Regions from separate parts of the Homo sapiens genome. Here all the other regions are linked to region 3. Evidence: promoter capture Hi-C in 16 types of primary human blood cells and fetal thymus (Javierre and others, 2016). All regions are on one chromosome and are shown on one strand. The core of a region is centred on a gene start or on the middle of the fragment in contact, and the rest is flanking DNA. Distances in the headings are between cores, read along the strand shown. Region 1 holds the start of KRTAP17-1 (keratin associated protein 17-1). Region 2 has its middle 16 kb from the start of KRT33A. Region 3 holds the start of KRT28 (keratin 28).

Region 1 (4,266 bases), core at 1,153-3,652, 510 kb after region 3:
AGGATAAGATGTGGAAATCAAAGACATAGAGCACATAACATTTGGGAAGCAGCAAATGGTTCAACATATCCAGGATGAAAAGCAGAGGGGATAGGAGGGAAAAGCAGTGGGGCTAGAGGGGTTACTAGGCACCCAATCATGAAAGGTCTTGTGGACCATGATTAAGAAGTTGTATTTTTTTAATGATAATGAGGGTTTAAGCAGGAGAGTAACTTGATCAGGGTTGCCCTTTCAGAAGGATGTGTCCCCTCTCTCTGGATGTGGAGAAGGGAGGTTGAGGGCAAGTCTGAAGGCAGGGAGACCATTAGGGGTCTGTGGCAATCACTTAGAAGTTTCATGGCAACAACCTGAATTGGGCAGGTTCAGAGACCTGAGAGACGGGTCATGGTAGTTGAAAATGGAGGATTAGGAACAGGGAGTGCCATTCTTTTAAATGTGGCTCTCAAGCAGTGGGCAAAGAAGACTTTTGGACAGGCCTGCAGAGGCAAACACAGAGGAGATGCTGAGACCCTTCTCTTTTCCATTCACTTCTCTTCCTCAGCTAAACCAGCAGTGAATGGAAGTCCGCCCCACAAACAAATTTCTCATAAACTCTCTCAGCCAAGAAACTCATCCATTGTGCTGGAATGTCATCTCTTCGAAGAATCCTTCCCTGCTAAATGAAAAGGCAGGTCATTCAACTATGTAGCCCATTTCTACTTTATTCTTCTTTATGGCTCTTATCACCCCTTGACCTCATATAAGCACCATGAGGGCAAGGACCTTGTCTATTCACAGATGCATACCCAGCATCCAGAGCAGCAGCTGATACATTGGAGGCACACGATTAGCATTTATTGAGTGAATAAATGAGAACCTCTGTGGATAGCTAAGAAGGGCAAGCCTGTATCAGTAATTCAAAAATCACTACCGCCACACATGCATCCAGGAGGCATGACCGTGCGCAATAGAATAATCAGCTGCTCTGAATCACAACTACTCAGTGCAGATTCACTGGTCTCTGGACAAGTGTGTCCCATTGGCAGCTCCTGCTTTGGCGGTGGCTTTGTCTTAGGGGTTAAAGAGCCAGTTCCTAGGAAGCCAGTTCCAGCCAGAGTGAAAATGGCTCAAATAGTAGAGTCCGAAACTGAACCAAGGCAGAGTCAAATCTCAGGTTCTCTCCAAAAGAAGACATTAATAATACTGCTGGGTTCATAAATGAAAGAAAAAAATGAAAACACAATGAGCTACCACTATACACCTGCTGGAATGGCTAGAAATAAAAAGACTGATAATATTAAGTGTTACCAAGGACATAGACACTGGAACTCTCAGACATTGCTGGTTGGAATACAAAATGCTGTGGCCACTTTGCAAAACAACTCGGCAGTTTCACATAAGGTTAAGCATTCACTTACCATTTAAACAGCCATCCAATTGCTAAGTATTTATCCAAAACAAAGCATATGTTCACCAAAAAAAAAAAATTGTACGAGAATGCTCATAGCAGCTTCATTCATAATAGCCAGAAACACAAAAGAATCCAAATGCCCATAAGTAGGTGAATATATTTTTAATGTAGTTTATCTGTATAATGGGATGCCATTCAGTAGAAAAAAAAATGAATTATTGATACCTGCAACAATGAACAGATACAAAACATGATAGGCAAAATGAAAAATAGTGCATACTGCATGATTTCTTTTATATGAAATTCTAGACATGGTGAAATCTGTAGTAACATAAAGAACAGGTTGATGGTTGCCAGGGTCTGGGGGTGGGGGAAGAACTGACTGCAAAGACAAACTGGGAATTTTGGGGGTGATGGAAAGTTCCATAAAGATCTTGAGTGCAGTGGTGGTTACATAAGTATACACGAATGTCAGATCACATCATACTGTTCACTAAAAATGGGAACTTTTTATTATATGTAAATTATATTTCAATAAAGTTGACCATAAAAAATGAAACAAAAAAATTTTTTAAAGAAAAAGGTAAAAGCAACATAATCCCAGTTTTATTCATAACTATGCTTAGAAAACAGTCTGGAAAGCTTATCAGTAATAGACTCTGAGTGGTGAGCCTTCGAATGCTATATTCTTTATATGTTTCTGTATTTTTTCATTTTTTAGAGTTCATTGCTATGCTTATAATCAGAAAAAAATTTTTCTTTGTCAAATGAAACATCGCTTTGTAGGCATAAAAATAAATACTATTTTTCCAGGGCAAGAGCAAAATTAGTTTTATTACACACACAGCTTAAGGTCACTTTCAACAAAAGGTTGATCAACTGTCTTTTGAGTTTTAACCTCCCAGGTGGACCCACACACCTTGGCTGGGCCCTACCTAGCAGAGGTATACTCACTCCCTCCTCCTTAGAACTCAGGCAGAAGAAACGTAGCTGGTTCCAGGTAAGACAACCTAGCACAGAAAAGTGAGACTGGACCAAGCATGAGGCTGGAAGAAGGAACTGTACTGCGCAGAACATCCTCAGAAACTGTGAATTCACTAGCTTTGCCATTAGAAATCCTTTCCATTCAGAACCAATCTTGTTTTACCAAAGCCTCCTTTCCGACTTTGCCAGAAAGTTCTGATCAAGCCTGAAGCCCTCCTGCAGAACCATCCTAGGAGAGCTGTAGTGCAGAAGAAAGCCATGCCCCTCAATCACCATTAAATGTGGCCAGCATCAGCATTCACCCAGGAGCTTTTAAAAATGCAGGTCCCTAGGGACTCTAGGCCCTAGAGCTAACGGGTAAAATCTCCAGTGATAAAACCCAATGATCTATATTTTTAAAAGCTTTTCAAGTGAATCTCATGCAGCACACGGAAGCTTCCGTCTAGATCTATGGTTCTCAAACTTCAGTGCATAAGAATTATCTAAGGTTCTTGTTAAAAACACAGATTCCCAGGCCACACTTTGGTGGATTCTGATTCTGTATGTCTTAGGGAGGGCCTCAGAGTCTCCAGTTTTAACAAGCTCCCAGGTGATTCCGACGCAGGTGATCCAAAAACCACAATTCAAAAACCCTAAGGCAGATGCCAGAGTGAATTTTTCTAACCCAGTCCTCAGCAGGGAGGTCAAGGAAGAGGCAAGAGAACTAATTAGGTTATGCCAGCATGCTCAAATTTATTAAGAGGCTCACAAAGAAGATGGACCTTTTTTGCATCTCAAAGCTGCAGAAAGCCAGGGCGGAGGATCAGTCCCAAAGACACCTTGAAGAAGAGGATGTCTTATAGTACAAGACATTGAACTTCATGTGAATAAGTAAAGTATTGGGGATTCACCCTTGAGCTTGGGATCACTTAGTTGTGACCGAGTTTTAATGTTTCATCAGAGTATGGCTCTTGTTCTCGGTGCCTTGAAATACCAGAGAAGGTGTTGGAGAACAAGCCCTCCTCTACAAATCACAGAAAGACAAGACACTGTCTTGGGGGTATGGAAGGTTCTGGACACGAGGGGCTGTCCCCCTGGAGCAGATGGAGGCTTTCGGTGGGACTGCATCAGTGGTGGAGGGAAAGGTCTTCATTTTGTGTCGCATATAGGTGTGGGCTGGCAGCACACAGGCCCACAGCACCCGGAGCCGCAGCAACTGGACCCACAGCAACTGGATCCACAGCAGCCACCCCCGCAGCCTCCGCAGCCTCCACAGCCTCCGCAGCCAGATCCACAGCAAGACGATCCGCAGCAGCTGCCCCCGCAGCCAGAGCCCCCGCAGCCAGAGCCCCCACAGCCACAGCAGGAGCCGCAGCAGCCACAGCAGCCCGGCTGACAGCAGCACTCTTCACAGCAGTTTTGCTCCTGGGTGCAGCAGGTGAAGCAGTCCCCCGGGCAGCACCCCATGGTCCGGGCCCGTCAGCTCGCAGGTCGGTAACGCAGCCGGAGTTCCCCACGACTGACGGTGGCCAGCCATCTGGATGGCAGCTTTTATATCCCCTCACCCAGGCATGAGGGACGGGATGTTTTCTTTGTTATTATTTATGCAAGTTTCCATAAGACCGGCTCATTAACTGGCTGTTTATTTTCCAGTCCTGAGTACCTCAACTCATAAAAACGCCCCACTCCTGCCAACTGCTGTTTATCCAGAGGGTAAAAATACATCTTCGAAAAGACCTGTCATCATGGCCAAGCATCTGCCAGCTGTCATTAGCCCAGGTTGGAGATGGGAAGGGGAAGCCGGCCACAGCTTCTGGCTCTGGAATGAGGGGCTTGCCTTCCACATCTTCGCAGGTTGGCGATGGACCCCATCTTCCATGGATGCTAGTCCTGGAAAGGCAGACCGGCAACAG
Region 2 (3,904 bases), core at 852-3,351, 540 kb after region 3:
TTGAGCACATACTCTGTGCTGGATGCCTTCTAGATGCGTGGCCGGGGTTGTAGTCCTCATTGACGAGGCAAGGTTCGAGCAATGTTTGCAGGAGGTGGTGGGTCACCCAAGCAGATATCTTGGCAGAGAGCATTCCAGGCAGTGGGAATGGCTCATGCAAAGGCCCTGAGGCAGGAGCATGACCGGCATGCCTGAGGCCCAGAGGGGAAGCCTGCATCTGTCCTGGTGTGAGCAGAGGCAAGCAGCAGAGAGCTCAGGGACAGAAGTCCCAGGTTCAATGGCTGAGGCTGTTGCAAGGCTCTAGCTGTCACTCAGAGCAGCCAGGGAGCCAGCAGAGGGTCCTAGCCAGAAGTGGGTTCAGCTGCGGCTCAGGTGTTAACAGGCCACACCACACCAGCAGGGAGGAGAGGGGGGCCAGCTGGCTGGTCCAGGTAAGTAATGAAGGGTGCTCAAACTAGGTGGGAGAAGGCAGATGGTGAGTAGAGTCACCTCAGGATCATTGTGAGGATGTCACCTACATGATTTGCTCATGGACTTAATGGGGATGGGGTCTGGAGGGAAAAGGAGAGACCAGTCCACAGGCCCCATGAGCCATATAGAAGCCAGACTGAATGGGTTTTAATTTCAACTCAGCTAGCAGGGAGCTATGTGACTGCACAGGAGCCGATGCAAACTGGACAGACAGGGACATCCTCCCTGGACTACTGTCCCACTCATCCATCCATTCATCCATTGGCCCACCTCTAGTACTGTCCCAACTACAGCCCTAGCAAGCGGAGACAACAAAAAGACCAGTTTTCCAGCTTTGTGGTCTTGGAAGAAGTTGCTACCAGTATGAGGAGAGACAATCAGTTTCCTCCAGGATCCAGAGAGCATATCAGCCAGCCTGAGGGTCAGGAAAGGAGGTCGGCCTCTCCACCAGCTAGACAGGCCTGCAGTAGGATGGGGCTGGGGCTGGCCATGCAGATCACTTGGGCCTCATGAGGGGAAAAGAAAGACCAGGGGGCAGAGGAGGAGCATGGGGGCAGCTGGTGGCCTCAGAAGAAGGCACCTCAGAGAAGGGGTCTGTCTTAGTTTGTTTTGTTTTCACACTGCTATGAAGAAATACCTGAGACTGGGTAATTTATCAAGGAAAGAGGTTGAATTGACTCACAGTTCAGAAAGCTTGCAATCATGGTGGAAGGCGAAGGGGAAGCGGGCATCTTCTTCACAAGGCAGCAGGAGGGAGTGAGAAAACGAGGAAGTGCCATGCTTTAAAACCATCTGCTCTCCTGAGAACTCACTCACTATCAGGGGAACAGCATGGGGGAACCCAGCCCCCTATAATACAATCACCTCCCATGAGGTTCCTCCCTTGACACATGGGGATTACAGCTCAAAATGAGATTTGGGTGGGGACACAGAGCCAAACCTATCAGTGTCTCACGTCTTGCAGCTCCCCTGGGGCTAAAGCTGAATGCAGATCTGCTGACCCTGATCTACAGCTTGCGGAAGCTCTGCCTGTGTGCCCCCATCTGCTGCTTCCTAGGGTTGGGGCCTGCTTCCTCAAAAGGAGAGTGGATCTGTTCTCCTGCCAGCCCCCCACAGGGCCTTGTGGAGCCCTGGCCATGTCCTCCCAAGGTGAGGTCATAAAACTGGGCTCCTTGCCCTTCTTGTTGCTTGGGTGACAAGCCTCGGGTCATCCCTAGGTCCTGTCACTGCTCCTGCTTCTAAAAGGAGAGCATTTTGCCAAATCTTCCTGGGAGAGGCTGGGGGCTCATCCCTGTTATTTGTTCTAGCTTGGTAAAATGAGGTTAAGACATCTAGGCAAGCAGACAATAGAGGGGCACCCAGGAAGGGTGGGTGGCGGGTGCTGGCATTTGGGCTTGCCTGGACCTTGTGGGGAGGGGGAAAGGTTACCAGGAGGCAGCACTGTCAGTCAGGGCTAAAGTCAGGAAGTGGGGGGAGTGGGGGCAGAGTGTGGCTGGCTTGCGGGGGGGCATAAGTGAGAGCCAAGATTTGTCAGCATGCAGTGGGTGTGGCTGACACCTGGCCTAGGGGCTGTGGAGCCCAGTGGTTGCTCTTAGTTCCTGGATCCAGGGAGATTTCTGGAGCCTGTGCCTGGGGCTTTCTAGGGGTGAAGATGGTGAGGGGCAGGGAAAGGGTGGCAGAGGAGGCCTTGCATGGCAGGGTGCAGGGCAGGATGCTGGGCAGGGACCAGATTGCAGTGGCTGCTCTCATCCCCACCACTACCCCTACCTCTACCCCAACCCTGGAGCAGGGTGGGGCCTTGGCAGGTGTCCTCTGTTTTGGCCTCGGCAGATCACAGGATGGAAGCCAGCAGTCCAATAGGCGTGCCACTCAAGCCAGCAGTGACCTGCAGCTTCTGCTTCCTGGAGAGTGGGGTGCCCACCCAAGAGAGCACAAGCACACCCCACACCCCTGACCTTGAGGGCACTGGGAGGTGGGGGCACTGTACTGGGACCAAGTCCCGGCAGCCTTGTGCGTGTGCCCTGGAAGGTAGCCTAGGAGTCCTGCGTGTGCCTCTCTGCACAGCAGGGAGGGGTGGGCAGGAGCCTGAACAGTGGCAGAGAGGGAGAGGAGGAGGGAGAGAGAAGTGGAGAAGGAGAGAGAAAGAGACATGGGAAGAAAGGAGTGAGAGAGAGAAAGAGAGATGGGGAGAGAGACAGAGACAGAGGAGGCTGAGAGGGAGTGTGGGGAGAGAGATAAGGAGAGAGACATAAAAGGTAGAGAGAGAGACAGGGAGAGATGCGCATGAGCAGAGGTCAGGTCACTCTTGATCTTAGTTCCCAGTGCAAACTGTAGGTCACCATCACCTGCCCACACATGCACTAAAGAGCTCTGTGCCTGCTGCCCACAGCCCCTGAGAACTCCTTCTCTTGAAGAATAAAACTTTTGATGGCTGCCATTCCTCACTGGATTTTGGTTGTGTCTTTGATGAACCATGATGTCCCACCTTCCCGGGCTCAAGTCTCCACCAAAAGCTGATGCCTCTTTTTGGGAGGCTCTGCAGTGCCTTCATCTCACTAGGCTCCCCAGGAAGCTTGTGAGCTTGGGTTGGACCCTAAGCAGTCAGATACATGCTGGGGCTCTGCTTGTCTCTTTCACTAACAGGGAAAGCCAAGAAAGAGATTGAAGCATGGTCTGCAGAGAAGGCACTTGTGCAAACACCAGGAGAACAAGAAGCCTGAGTTGTCTTCATTTCTCTTAAAAACACTCATTCCCTCCCATGCCACCTTAGTGAGGGCATGAAGCACAGCATGTGTGTGTATGTGTGCAGGTATGTGCACATGTATGTATGTGCATGTGTGTGTGTGTTGCAGGGGTGTGCTGTGGACAGGAGGTCCAGGGGGCAGCTCCAACTCAAAGCTGCAAGTCTCTGTGATAGAATGGTCAAGATTCACTGGACCACAGCAAGAGAGTGTTTTCATGTGCATCCAGTTTTATTAGCATTTAAACCCATATTTTTAGTACCCTGTAAACCTTAAGTTGCTTATCTATTCTTAGAAGCATTTACACCAGTGGTCCCCAGCCTTTTTGGTACCAGAGACCAGTTTCATGGAAAACAACTTTCCCATGGGCCGAGGAGAGGGAAAGTTATGATTTGGGGCTGATTCAAGCCCATTACATTTATTGTGCACTTTATTTCTACTATTAATATATTGTAATATACAATGAAAAAATTACACAACTAACCATAATGTAGGATCAGTGGGAGCCTTGAGTTTGTTTTCCTGCAACTACATGATCCCATCTGGGGGTGATGGGAGACAGTGACAGATCATAAGGCATTAGATTCTCATGGGAAACTCTGAAGTTTCCCATCAGCAAGAAGCTAGGAGTAGAGAAGCAAGAGACCCTCTTCCCTCTCTCCTTTCTTGAAGGAGAGAGGAAAGAAGCCCCC
Region 3 (4,128 bases), core at 179-2,678:
TCCTGCATTACCCCCACTCAATTCTGTACAGGATAATTGGAAGTTATTTCATCACACAAATTCCAATAGCATAACCTAGTTAAATAAAAATACACCATTTTGGAATTTTATTTTAGTTAACGTTTTTCCTTAGTTGACTAATGATTTACTGAGCATCTACTTTGTGCTTGGCAGTATTCTAGGCAGGCAGAGAAATATATTGATATTTTGTCCCAGGAATATAATAACTATGTATAAGTTGATTGTAACATTATAATACAAATCCTTTGCTTCCTTTTATCTTTTAGGTGATAGTTCATTCTACTTGGGATGAAATAGAAATTTTATTTAACAAATTAAATAAATAGAAACTTTTTTCTAGAGCAGGATTTTCTTCTGTCACTTACTTTAGCCTGAAATCATCAGCAGCCAGTCTGGCATTATCAATCTGCAGAATGACATTAGCATTAGTAGTAGTGGAGGAGATAATCTAGAATAAACCAAAACAGAGAACACAACAAGTAAGTATGCTTTTATGTGATTCATTATTTCAGGAAATGAAAAAGGTTACTCAAGTTTTTGCATAAAAATTTCACCTCCTTATGTAATAATCAAAATGTTTCAAGTTTAACTTTTAAAAATTAAAGACATGGTTTTATTTATTCTCATATATTCCCCTAAATTTAGAACTACAATACTTTTTTATTCATATGCCTATGAATGTACTTCAACATAAACAATGGAACTAATAACATTTTAACTACATTAAAATTCATGAATCAAAGGGCCCATTTTTGAATAGTAGGAAGAATTGTTTATCTAAATAAATAAATACAAGTTATAACAGTCATGAAGCATTTCTTATTGTATGTCTTTTGTTAGGTATTTCTTAGTTTTAAATACTTGGGTTAGTTCCAAATCTGTGATTTCTCACCTTATTCTTAAGATCCTCAATTGTTAGGTGATATCTGCTATAGTCATGATCAAGTCCACGGCAAGATCCAGGTCCGTATTTTTCATACCAACCCTTGATTTTTCTCTCTAATTCAGCATTTGCCTCCTCCAGAGCTCGCACATTATCCAGGTAGGATGCCAAGCGGTCATTAAGATTTTGCATGGTCACCTTCTCATTTCCAGAGAGGAGTCCCCCTTCGCTTCCAGCAAAGCCAATACAAGCAGCATTTCCAAGGGCACCACCAGCATGGCTCCCACCAGGAACACTGCCCAAGCCCCCTCCCAAGGCACAGGAAAATTCACTTCCAGCAACAGAGCCACCACATGCACTGCTGCCTGCAAAGCCTGCACCTCCATTGAGGGGTCTGACAGATCCAGCTCCAGACCTTAAGCAAACATGCCTGGATCCATTAGAAAATTGGAGAGACATGGTGTTTTGAGAAATGTTCACCTTGTCTATGCAAAACTGTAATGTCCCAAGAGAACAGAATATCATGCACTGATAATTTCTTTGGGTTTTTATATATCATTATTGGGGCGTTCCTATTTGAGTTATACATGCCAAAAGCAAAATGGCATCACTTAGATTAGCATAAAATTATGTATAATTGGGTGATTTTAAAAATAATTAATGTCTAACATCCCTCGGTGTTGCTTTGGGCTATTTCTTATCTTAAATATAATAGGGTTTGTTCTATATTAAGTTTATTAATTTAACTTCTAATTTTGAGTGAGTAATCCTTTCCTTTCATCTAGACCCTAGGCATATACTGTCATTATCTGGCGCCAGGTATTATCAAATTTTTTATAAAGTTAAGTAAGATTATGATAGAGTTCTGTGAGGTACAGTAGGGTCTCAATTACCATGGAGGGGTATAAAGGACTGCTAATTACAGAAACAGATATTTTATCCCACCAGAAAAAAATGTGTTATTTAGAAAACAGAGGCTAGTGACATCTCTGTTCTTACCATGATTATAACATCTATTTATTATCTTGGACAATGACACAAATATTGACCTATTATTTTGTTTAAAATAGCATGGTTATGATGTTTGGTGCTCTATGCTAAGTGCTAAAATGAAAGACATAGTGTTAACTAAATGCAGAAGTGAAAAATGCGTGATTACAATCTTTAAGAAATCTATTGTCAGGTCCAGACAGGGGCTGGATCATGGTTAGCTTTCTGTGCTGGTCTAAAGAGTTTGTAATGAATCCTAAGTAAAAAGCAGAGGGCAAAATGATCAGGTTGAAATGAAACAAGGTGGTCAATTACAAGGTTGGAATAATGGTCCAGGTGAGAAGGATGAAGGCAGTGGGGATGCAGAGAAGATGGCTTTGAGAGCATATGGTAATATGATTGAATTTGGAGAGTAGGGAATAAGGCAGAATTGGGGATAACTCTTAGGTAATTAATTTTAGATTCTGGGAACTCATAATATTCACTGAGATGGGGAATAGAGGAGGAGGAAGACACTGAGTTTAGGTTTGGACCAACTGGATTTGAGGGGTTGCCAGAATGTTCCAGATGAAGGTGACTGATAGCAAGAATGACTGTTTAGAATATGTATACTGAACTGGAAAAATACTTGACTAGCAATGAGTAAAAGAAAATTGGAGGGTCCAGCTCTCATTTATAATGATGTTCAACTGCATATTTGGAAGTAATCCTGGTGCAGGAATAGAAAGGATGATGATCAGATTGATGTGGGTTTTGGGATTTGAAGACAGGTCCAGAAGAAGGAAATAGTGGCAAAGAAATTTCTGGTGTTCTTGAGAAAACAATTGAGGCGATTGACTGTATGATCATATAGCAAGAAGAAAGTAAAACCAGAGGGACAGATGGACTGAAGAAAAGGGCAGAGGGTGAGTCATTGGGTATCCTTATGAGGTCATGGAGCAGGCGGAGTGTGAGGAGGAGATTGATAAAGGTGAAGGATGACAGGCTAAAATTGGATAGTGGAAACCAGAATTTAGAATTTTAAAGTAGGCACAACTCCAGGTGTCACCAAAGTCCACAGAGTAGTCATGGGAGTGGACCAACAGTCACTGGAACAAGAAGTCAGAAGTGGATTGGACCTGAAAGGCAAGAGAGTAGGAGGTCAGGAACTATCTGTCTGTGACATTAAATGTACCATCTATAAAGGCGTGAAGTTTCTCATGATGGCAGGAGACAGGAGGGAAGTGGGCTGTGAGCCATTGTCAAGGTTTTTGGATGATGAGGCAGAGGGGAGTGTATGTGGTGAGGGGCCATTGGATGGCATTTGCCTCAAAAGAGGAGTCTTAGCATAAGAATTAAGTGGCACAAAGCTAGATGTGGCATTGGGGATCTAGAGAACACAGACTCTGCCTTGAAGTCCTTATGTTAGGTGTGTGGAAGTGGGAGCAGAAGAGGAGATGGAAGTGAAGAAGGAGGATGGAGAGGAGATGACAAGAAAAGATGTGGGAGAAAATGAGAGGAAAAGATGTGGGAGAAAATGAGAGGAAAGGGGAGAGAGATGGGAATGGAGATCGAGGATGAAGGATAAGTTTCTGATAGAAAAAGTTGTTAGGACAATTCAGCAGAAAGTGGTTAATGCTATTAAAGAATCATTTCAGTTGAACTATTTTGCAGAGAGGTCTGCAGAAAAGGTTCATGTAATTGTCAAAGTGTGGGTAAAAAGAGTTTCCACCTCATAAGCTTGTTGAAAAACTAAATGAGATCATGCTTAGTGCGGTGCCTGGCAAATGGAAAACTGTCAATGAATGGAAGCCATTATTATTACTATTGGTGTTGTTCCTAACTGGGTGTGTGAGTGTGGAGGGCTGGGACATCAGGCTGGAAGGGAAGGAGAGGTGACCAAGGAGAAGCCTCCTTCCTCTTGAGGCCATGGCTGTGGAGGGTGGGGATGAAGAGGGTTGGCAGGGCAGGAAAAAGGAGGGACAAGGGACAGGAGACACTTGGTTGGACGTGACTGGTTTTGAGTCCACTTGGTTGGATTTGACTGGGTTCAGGGAGTGATGACAAGTATAAAATTGTTTTGCCACCAGAATAGTCAGGGGTGGTCTCCTGGAATTGCCTTGGCCTAAACAGTCTGGAGCCTGATTAGCTGGTGCTGAGGGTGGCTCGCGTGTGGCCTCTAAGATGCATTTTCTGGACAAAGTTGTAGGATATTTTTAGAGTTGCAAAGAGCCTTAGACATCACCTAATTTAGC

What was found. The method cuts DNA at HindIII sites, captures the fragments that hold promoters and counts their contacts. A CHiCAGO score of 5 or more calls a contact.
Region 1: a fragment that was not itself captured here is called in contact with the fragment with the promoter of KRT28 in region 3 in 5 of 17 cell types (endothelial precursors, erythroblasts, M0 macrophages and 2 more); the score reaches 8.3 in endothelial precursors.
Region 2: a fragment that was not itself captured here is called in contact with the fragment with the promoter of KRT28 in region 3 in 4 of 17 cell types (M0 macrophages, M2 macrophages, endothelial precursors and 1 more); the score reaches 8.3 in M0 macrophages.

Annotation. Positions count from the first base shown.
Region 1 is chr17:41,311,831-41,316,096 of GRCh38, forward strand. It overlaps KRTAP17-1 (keratin associated protein 17-1), which reads right to left and starts at 3,880. Exons shown (of 1, transcript NM_031964.2): 1 at 3,082-3,880. The coding sequence starts at 3,820. The coding sequence ends at 3,503. The HindIII fragment of the contact is 744 bases long and covers 2,031-2,774 here.
Region 2 is chr17:41,333,189-41,337,092 of GRCh38, forward strand. No RefSeq gene overlaps it. Among named protein-coding and RNA genes, the nearest start is that of KRT33A, 16 kb to the right of the region's middle. The HindIII fragment of the contact is 1,879 bases long and covers 1,163-3,041 here.
Region 3 is chr17:40,798,531-40,802,658 of GRCh38, forward strand. KRT28 (keratin 28) reads right to left here and starts at 1,429. Exons shown (of 8, transcript NM_181535.3): 1 at 914-1,429; 2 at 387-469. The coding sequence starts at 1,363. It overlaps LOC105371776 (a long non-coding RNA gene), which reads left to right and starts at 2,804. Exons shown (of 4, transcript XR_934753.2): 1 at 2,804-3,034. RefSeq lists an enhancer at 1-607. The HindIII fragment of the contact is 3,919 bases long and covers 1-3,611 here.